2 separate regions of the Homo sapiens genome follow, and region 1 is linked to region 2. Evidence: promoter capture Hi-C in 16 types of primary human blood cells and fetal thymus (Javierre and others, 2016). All regions are on one chromosome and are shown on one strand. Each heading gives the region's core, a stretch centred on a gene start or on the middle of the fragment in contact. The rest is flanking DNA. Distances are from core to core; before and after follow the strand shown. Region 1 has its middle 18 kb from the start of MIR3658. Region 2 holds the start of FAM78B (family with sequence similarity 78 member B).

Region 1 (4,336 bases), core at 1,482-3,981, 240 kb before region 2:
GATAATGAAAAAAAAAAAAGTGTCTCATTGGTTTTTTCAAACTTTCTCCTCCAGAGAAATTCTGCTTTGTTCACAGCATCAAATGTTGCTTGGAGTTCTAAAACTTCCATTGTTCTTTGTATGTGAAGCATGCTGGGATGCCTGGGCGGTGGAGTGTTACTTCACATTAAATTGTGGGCTCCTTTACGGTCAGCAACTGTGTTTCCTGTATCTCATGTGTCCTGGCAGGGTACTTGCCACGTAGTCAGTGCCTGATAAACAGTTGGCTGATTTCCTTATTTGACTTTTGCTTTAGAGCCAGACGCCTCGCTAGCAGAGATGCACACGTTTTTTTGTTTTGTTTTTTTTTTTTTTTGAGATGCAGTCTCGCTCTGCCGCCAGGCTGGAGTGCAGTGGTGCAATCTCGGCTCGCTGCAAGCTCCGCCTCCCGGGTTCAAGCGATTCTCGTGCCTCAGCCTCCCGAGTAGCTGGGATTACAGGCGCGCACCACCACGCCCAGCTAATTTTTGTATTTTTAGTTGAGACGGGGTTTCACCATGTTCGCCAGGATGGTCTCGATCTCTTGACCTCGTGATCCACTCGCCTCGGCCTCCCAAAGTGCTGGGATTACAGGCGTGAGCCGCCGCGCCCGGCCCGAGATGCACATGTATTTTTAAAGAGTTCCATTGATAACTGAGTTTCTCCTGACCAGAAGGTGGACTGTGGCCTAGGCATGGCAGTGCCTCCTGATTGGCTTTGGAAGCTCAGCTCCATCTGTGGTCCGTTATTCTTAAAAGTGGCCACTAGAGGGTGAGAATGAGCCACAGCACAGCAAAGTCCTGTTTTAACCTTCAGAACAGCTGGAGGACGGTCAATTCAAACACACTAGAGAGCACCTATCATGTGCCAGGTACTGTGCCAAGCCCTCCCTGCCTTCCAGGACCTCATAAATGGCCAGTGGCCCCTCACATATAGACACAACTCTTGTACAAGGCAGAATGGAATGTGCACAAAGAGGTACAATCCCAACTCCTAGATCTAGGGGGTCTCAACAAGGAGGAACTGTGGGTGGCTTTCCTGTAGAACTCAGATTGGTCAGTCTGTGAGAAGGAAACTTACAGGACCTGCACCATCCACCCTCTCAGTCTCAGTCTCACCCACCTCTTCATACACCTGTTTCATGTGCATATGGCTTTACTGTTGCCTGCCAGAGACCACCCAGGCTTTGCAGTAGACTATTTGCATAACCCTGGACTAACCACTCTCTAATCTTTAATCTCTTTATTTAGGGATGATAATATCAAGTCCTTTCTACCTCATAGGATTGTGTCAGATTTAAGCAAAGTAATGAAGATCAAAGTACTTTTGAAAATTCATAAGTGCCATATATTTATGAAGCTTTAAAATAATTGTTAATATAAATTTCCCTAAAATGCCCTCAGAGTCTAGGAAGTTTGGGTGCACCATGGGCATTTACTGAATTAACTAGAATGTACACTCTTCCAGAAGAGGAGACCCACAGTAAGCCGAGGTATACCAGGCAGTTTCGGACAAATCTGAGAGCCAGGAAACAGCAGTGTCATTAAAGTGTTGGGCTGAACATTGTGCTCTGACACTCTCTGGGGAGGTGTCAGCCTGGCATCCAAGAAGGGTGGCCCTGTGGGAGGGTTATGCTCCAGACTGTGGAGAGGGGCACTTTCCTTTTCCGGGCAGGGACCCTGAGGAAGAGGAGATTAAGAATGGGTGTGGTATGATGCTGCTCTAACCCCTGAGATAAGCTTCCGAGAAGAAAAGCCACTGTCACTCACTTTTCAGGACCAATAAAGGAACTGAATGGTAGAGAGAGCTTTGCCATCTTCTCTCATGCTTGAGGAAAGGAGACTGACCCCTTCTCAAGGTGATGGGAGACTTAAAGTGCCTGTTCATGATTGGTGGCATGAGAGGGGAGGAGGAAAGACTGGAAATGTCAGTCACCATGCTTATCGCCTGCTGCGCCAAAGAACACCCCAGCGAGATCCTTAGGGCCATTTTCTTTCAGAGTCTATTTTAAAAATGTCTTTATTGATTTGATCAAACTGGTGTTTTTAAAACTTCAGTTAAGGTGAGCTTTCCATGCACACACATTGGTGTGTGTGTGTATGTGCATGTGTCAGGGGGCTGCTGGGGTGGGAATGGGGACCAAAGAGAGACTATTTTTAGAATAGCATTTCCTCTGAGGGGGTTTTAACCTGTTCTCTGCTGTTTTATGTTAGAGATTTATTTGATCATGCAGTCAACAACAGCACCAACAGCACCATCTGGTTTGCTAATAGATATTTTTTTTTTTCTGTTTCAGCCTTTATTTTAGAATTGGGGGTACCTGTGCAGGTTTGTTACAAAGGTATATTGTGTGATGCTGAGGTTTGGGGTATGACTGAATCCATCACCCAGGTAGAGACCATAGTACCCAATGTGTAGTTTTTCAGCCCCTGCGCCCCTCCCTCAGTCCCTCCTCTAATATTCCCCAGTGTCTGTTGTTGGCATTTTTATGTCCATGTATATGCAATGTTTAGCTCCCACTTATAAGTGAGAACATGTGGTATTTGGTTTTCTGTTTCTGTGTTACTTCACTTAGGATAATGGCCTCTAGCTGCATCTATGTTGATGCAAAGGACATGATTTTTTTTTTTTTTTTTTTGAGACGGAGTGTCGCTCTGTCCCCCAGGCTGGAGTGCAGTGGTGCAATCTCGGCTCACTGCAAGCTCCGCCTCCCAGGTTCACACCATTCTCCTGCCTCAGCCTCCCGAGTAGCTGGGACTACAGGCGCCCGCCACCACACCTGGCTAATTTTTTGTATTTTTAGTAGAGATGGGGTTTCACCGTGTTAGCCAGGATGGTCTCGATCTCCTGACCTCGTGATCCGCCTGCCTCGGCCTCCCAAAGTGCGGGATTACAGGCAGGAGCCACCGCGCCCAGCTGATTTTGTTCTTTTTTATGGCTGTGTAGTATTCCATGGCGAATATATACCACATTTTCTTTATCCAGTCCACTGTTGTTGGGCACCTGGGTTGATTCCATGTTTTTGCTATTGTGAATAGTGCTGCAGTGAACATATGGGTGCATGTATCCTTTTGGTAGAATGATTTATTTTCCTTTGGGCATATATCTGGTAATGGGATTGCTGGGACAAATAGTAGTTCAGCCTAACTTCTTTGAGAAATCTACAAACTGCTCTCTACAGTGGCTAGACTAATTTGCATTCTTGCCAACAGCATATGTGTTCCCTTTTCTCCATAGCCTTGCTAGCACCTGTTATTTTTTGACTTTTTAACAAAAGTCACTCTGACAGGCGAGAGATGGTATCTCATTGTGGTTTTGATTTGCATTTCTCTGATGATTAGTGTTGTTGAGCATTTTGTCATATGTTTGTTGGCTGGTTGTATGTCTTCGTTTTAGAAGTGTTTGTCCATGTCTTTTGTCAACTTTTAATGAGGTTATTTGCTTTTTGCTTATTGATTTAAGTTTTTATATCGATTTTGGGTCTTAGACATTTGTTAGATGCATAGTTTGTGAATATTTTCTTCCATTCTGTAGGTTGTCTCTTTACTTCCTCGATGGTTTCTCTTGCTGTGCAGAAGCTCTTTAGTTTAATTAGGTCCCACTTGTCAATTTTTGTTTTTGTTGCAGTTGCATTTGAGGACTTAGTCATAAATTCTTTGCCAAGGCCAATATTGAGAAGGGTATTTCCTAAGCTTTCTTTTAGGATTCTTATAGCTTGAGGTCTTACATTTAAGTCGTTAATCCGTCTTGAGTTATTGTTTGTATGTGGTGATAGGTAGGAGTCCAGTTTTATTCTTTTACCTATGTATAGCCAGTCATCCCGGCACCATTTATTGAATAGGGAATCTTTTCTCCATCGTTTATTTTTGTTGAGTTTGCTAATAGATATTTGATAATACAGAACTTGGATATGACTTTTGGACACACTTAGATGTGGAGATTTTTCTCTTGGTTGCATTTGTGTATGTGTGAGAATAAGGAGAAAGGACTAATACATGGTCATTTCTATTTGCTGCTGTAGCAGCAAGGAGAATCTGGCAGAGGTAGACTGTGTGTGTGTGTGTGTGTGTGTGTGTGTGTAAGTATTGGCCATGACACATTGACACATCCTGTAATGACACTATCTCCCATGTGCTTGTCATTCTCCAATGTGCTAGGCTTCAAAACCTCACCAGGGGGCGCAATTGTAATTTCTCGCATTCATTTCGTTCATCAACCATTTATCTAGTTAGCCTCTACTGTATGCCTGTCACTGAAATGCATTGTTTTGTTTTAAACCTCATTTGAATCCTGTGAGGTAGATTGAATTACCCCTCTT
Region 2 (4,567 bases), core at 1,238-3,737:
GTGCTGAGGCATATTGGAAACTGGGCCTCACATTTCTTCACTAGGAATTGAGTTTTCTCAAGGATTAAGCTTTTGTGCTTAAAGAGAAAAGTGCAAAATCTTTGGGAGGAAAAAAGGAAAACAACGACCTGTCAAATTTCTTTTAGCGCCTATGACTAGTGTTAACTGACATGCTCTCAGAGTGCAATAAAAAGCCTGCAAACTGCTGCTAAAAAGATGGTTTGACCTTTTAAAATGGGAACTCCCCCACCCCATATCCATATTAAATAGACGAACCTTGGGAGCTCTAGAGTTTTAGATTAATAAGTGAAATGAGGTTGAATTTCCAGAAAAAGGGTTTCCCTGTAGGCTGCAGACTGGCTAATTAGGGTGTTCTAGACCTACATTGTAACAGCAGGTAGAAGGCAGGCCCTAAACCTTTTAGCTATTGTCGTTGCCACCTGCTCAGAGTCTAGTTCTGAAAGGAGGCGGGTGCGGAGTTATGAAAATTTGGTAAATATAAAAGTCCCGGACGCGACCGCCCGTAGCCTGCGGCCCCTGGCGGTTGAGGAGCCGCGGCGATCCTTGGTCTTCACCGCAGCAGCCAAGCCCGGCGCGCACCAACCGGCGCTGCTGAAAGTTGGAGAGCTCCCAGCTCGCCGATAGAATTCGGCGGTGGGCGCCAGGGGAATCCCTTCCAGTGCCGCAATTAGGAAAGTTTTAAAAAGTAAGGACCCTAGACAGACAAGAGATCCATCCTTTCCTTTAGCATAAGAAACACCCCGCGCCGCGCCAGCCGAACGCTGCTCGCACAAGGCTATCCGCCCTTCTTGGCCGGGACGCACTCGGTGCCTTCCAGCTCCCCACCAGAACTGGTCCAGGGGGCGCGGAAACAGAGAGGCAACTGTGTCCGGCTTGTGGTTCCAGACGGAAACGCCTCCGGGCTCCCTGGCCCGGGGGACAAGGGTTCGAAACTTCAACAGTCGCGAGGGCAAGGACAGAACTACCAACTCCCGCTCGGATGCCCGGGACCTGCTCTTCCAAGCCCGCTCCGGTTTCTCCAAAGGACGCGCGGCACAGCCCATGCGCCCCCGGCACTCCACTCCACTCCTCTATGGTTTCCCCCAAACTCTTCCCGGGGAGCCCCACAAAGCACAGACGGCGCCCTGAAACTCGCCAGGCACTCGCCAGCCATCCCCACCTCCGCCTCTCGAACCCTCCTTGTCGCGTTCTTCCCGCCCCGCACCTTTCTCCTCGCGTTTCTGGGAAGTCAGAAGCAAACCACGAGAAAATGCCTTCGCAAGGAGCCTCCCTACACCCGCCCTGTCACTGAAACAAAAGCGTAGGGAGGAGGGAGGTGGGAGAGGAGGCGGGAGGAAGGTTTAGAAAGACGATGGGGACAGCAGTAGGAAGGAGCTGGGGAGGGGGGTCAAGGTGGCAAGCAGAGCTGGGGGCCCAGAGTCCGCTCCCGTGCCGCGCGGCGAGTCGCTTACATGCCCAGGTCGCTGTAGGTGTTGAAGAACTCCATCTGATTGCACGCCTGAATCCAGCCCACCACCCAGGTCTCGTGGCGGGGGATGGGGGGCATGACCACGCGGGCGGAGGCTTTGAAGTAGGGGGTCTTGTAGCGCAGGACGATGGGCGAGGTCTCCTCGATGCGCGTGGGGCACTGGTCGATGGTGGCGCACACATCGTACACCACGATGTTCTCGCGCCGGATCCGCGCCTTGCAGGTGATGCTTTGGATACAGCCCATCCTGCAGCCCGGTGCCGGCACGGCGCGGCGTGGGGCAGCGCGGGGGCCCGCGCGGGCAGCCGGGGGCGCCCGTCACGCCGGCATGGCGACGCGCCGCTCGCTCCCGGTCAGACTCAGCTCGCACCTAGGAGCGGGGAGCCGCCGGGCATCCTTGGGGAAGCCCCCTCCTCTTGCAGCCGCGCGGGGTCCCCGCTGCCCCGACGTCCGCCCACGCCCGCCCCCTCGCTCCGGCAGGGCGCGCGGAGGGTGCACTCCTAGGAGGCGGCGGGTGCCCTCGCCGGCTCCAGCGCCCGGGCGGAGGGCAGGGAGGGGAGCGGCGCTGCGAGGAATGGTGCCCACCCCGGGCCGGAGCCCCCCGCCCCTCGCCGGAGAGGAGGAGGCGGCAGCGGCGGCGGCATGGAGCCGGGGGAGGGCGGCGGTGGCAGCGCCCGGTCTGTCTGCCTCCGCGGCGGCAGCAGCAGCAGCCGCCGCCGCCGCCGCCGCTGCATGAACCTCTGCACCACGGCTGCCCCCCGCGTGCAGCGCACCCAGCGGCGGGCGAGCGGGCGGCCCAAGAGGCAGGCGGAGGCAGCAGCGGCGGCGGCGGCGACCGGAGCTCCCGCCGGCCCCGCCCCGTAGCCGGACCACACCGACACTCCTCGGCCCGGCTGCCTCGGCCCGGGGGGCGCCAGGAGGCTGTGGCCCGGGGTGGAGAGCCCCAACGGCTGGAGCAGCACAGGACGTGCTCCGCGGAGGAAACTGGCTGTACGCCATGAGTTTTGTCCCTATTCGGCTGCCGTCCGGGTGGGGGGGGGGTAATGTGTAAGGGTGGGGGTGTTTAAAGGGCCGCTAGCGCCGGGGTGGGGCCCCGCACGTGGGGCTGAGGCGGGGCGGGGCCCTGGTAGGTGGTGCCCTGGGGTGGGGGTGGGGGACTAGGGCGGGCCCAAGCGCCACCGGGTGGGTGAGGCCGAGCAGGGCGCGGCGCTGTCCAGAGTCCAGTGGGGAACCCGGTAGCCCAGTAGGGGCTGTAGAGTGAGTGTTTCGGGCAGCAGAAGGGTTAGGGGAACAGCTTTATCAGAGATTGGTCGTTATTCAGAATATAGCTTGTTGGATTAGATTTAGGCTTGAGCCCTTTTAGTATCCTACCTTCAGAAAGGGTGAAGGGCGGGCTCCAGCAGCGTTACTAAATGCAGTGTATTTGCCTCTTTGCCTGACTGGGTTTGTTCTGGAAGCTCTTCTTTCCACCACTGTGTGTAGTGGGGATACCGGAAGAATCCCTCCGTACTCCAGCACTAAGTCTCTCATATGCCAGAGTTTTGGCAGACATTGGGCATTGTGTACAGTATGACCACGGTCATGTGTCTGATACTGCAGTCTAATGTGCCAAACAGGAAGAATATTTAGCAGATGCTTTTACTAGGCATCTTCTTACATTTTTATTTTCAAAGCCAATAGCTTCTAAGTATTTCTTCTGCGATCATTGAACATTTGCTGGATCTGCTGCCCAAGTGTGAAATACTGACTAACAGGCCGCAGGAGGTGCTAGAGTTAGTCTTTAGCTAGGACAGGTGTGACGAGTAATTTAAAAATTGATTGAGATCTAAAAGCACTCTTCATCCTTGTTTTAACTGTTCTGACACCTTGGTTCACTTTATAGTTAACAAAAAAGCAGTTTTTCCCTTTGATGACTCGTCTCTCTCATTTTACCGTGTAGCCACAGACCTCAATCACTGGTCCTTTCATTCAGCAAAGGCTGACTGCCTGCCTGGCAGGAGCCAAACATAGTGCTAGGTACTAGGGATTCAAAGTTGAAAAAGAGCACATGGATCACTGGAGAAAATAAACCTGTTAACAAGTTATTATAGTAAACTGTGACACCTGCTTTAGTGGGGTTGTGTATCCAGTGCCGTGGAAGGCCAGACATGTAAATCTCTGGCCACATGTAAATCCCTCAGTGGTCAGAGAGCCACTCAGTGGCTCTCTGGCCACTGAGAGATTTACGTGTGACTTTGCTCAAGTAGTGACATTTAAATTGAATACTGACAGACTGTAGAGTCTCACTGAAAAGAGAAAGGTGAATGAGTAGTACAGGACCAGCATTTGGCAAATGCAAAATGCATAGAGATATGAAAGAACTCATCCTGTACTGAGGGGGAGAAACAACTCACAGTCAAGGCATTTCTCAAGGTGTTATGTGTCGACCATGGGCATCAGAATCACTGTCCAAGAATCAATTGGTTGTTGATAGACCATATCTTTTTTCTTTTTAAAATTAAGACTACAGACTTTATTTTGATTTTACTAGTTTTTCCACTAATGTCTTTTTTTCTCTAGAATCTAATCCAAGATATGATGTTGCATTTAGTCATTACATCTCCTTATTCTTCTCAATCTGTGACAGCTTCTCAGTCTTTCTCTGTTTTTCATGACCTTGACATTTTTAAAGAGGACTGGTCAGATATTCTGTAGAATTGTTCCTCATTTGCATTTATCTGATGTTTCCTCATGATTAGACCAGGGTTTTGGATTTGGGGGATGAATACCATGAAGATGAAGTGCCTTCTCATTGCATTATGTCAGGGGTACATGATAGCAATATGACTTTTTACTGGTGTTATTAACCTTGATCACTGGGTTTGGTGAATAATTTTTTTAACTTTTAGGTTCAGAGGTACAGGTGCAGGTTTGTTATATAGGTAAATTGCATGTCATAGGGGTTTGTTGGACAGATTATTTTATCACCCTGGTAATGAGGATAGTACCCAATAGGTATTTTTTTTTTATCCTCTGCCTCCTCCTACCCTTCACCCTCTAGTAGGGCCCAGTGTCTTCTCTTGATAGGACCTTATCTTA

The links. Contacts are between HindIII fragments. The CHiCAGO score rates a contact against its expected background, and 5 or more counts as called.
Region 1: a contact is called between a fragment that was not itself captured here and the fragment with the promoter of FAM78B in region 2, in 1 of 17 cell types (megakaryocytes). The highest score is 5.3, in megakaryocytes.

Annotation. Positions count from the first base shown.
Region 1 is chr1:165,924,089-165,928,424 of GRCh38, forward strand. No RefSeq gene overlaps it. Among named protein-coding and RNA genes, the nearest start is that of MIR3658, 18 kb to the left of the region's middle. RefSeq lists a silencer at 4,185-4,294. The HindIII fragment of the contact is 1,953 bases long and covers 1,756-3,708 here.
Region 2 is chr1:166,164,514-166,169,080 of GRCh38, forward strand. It overlaps FAM78B (family with sequence similarity 78 member B), which reads right to left and starts at 2,488. Exons shown (of 2, transcript NM_001017961.5): 1 at 1,473-2,488. The coding sequence starts at 1,735. It overlaps LOC112268276 (a long non-coding RNA gene), which reads left to right and starts at 1,364. Exons shown (of 3, transcript XR_002958633.2): 1 at 1,364-1,541. RefSeq lists enhancers at 1,355-2,257, 1,429-1,598, 1,699-1,748 and silencers at 2,139-2,198, 2,239-2,728. The HindIII fragment of the contact is 5,998 bases long and covers 68-4,567 here.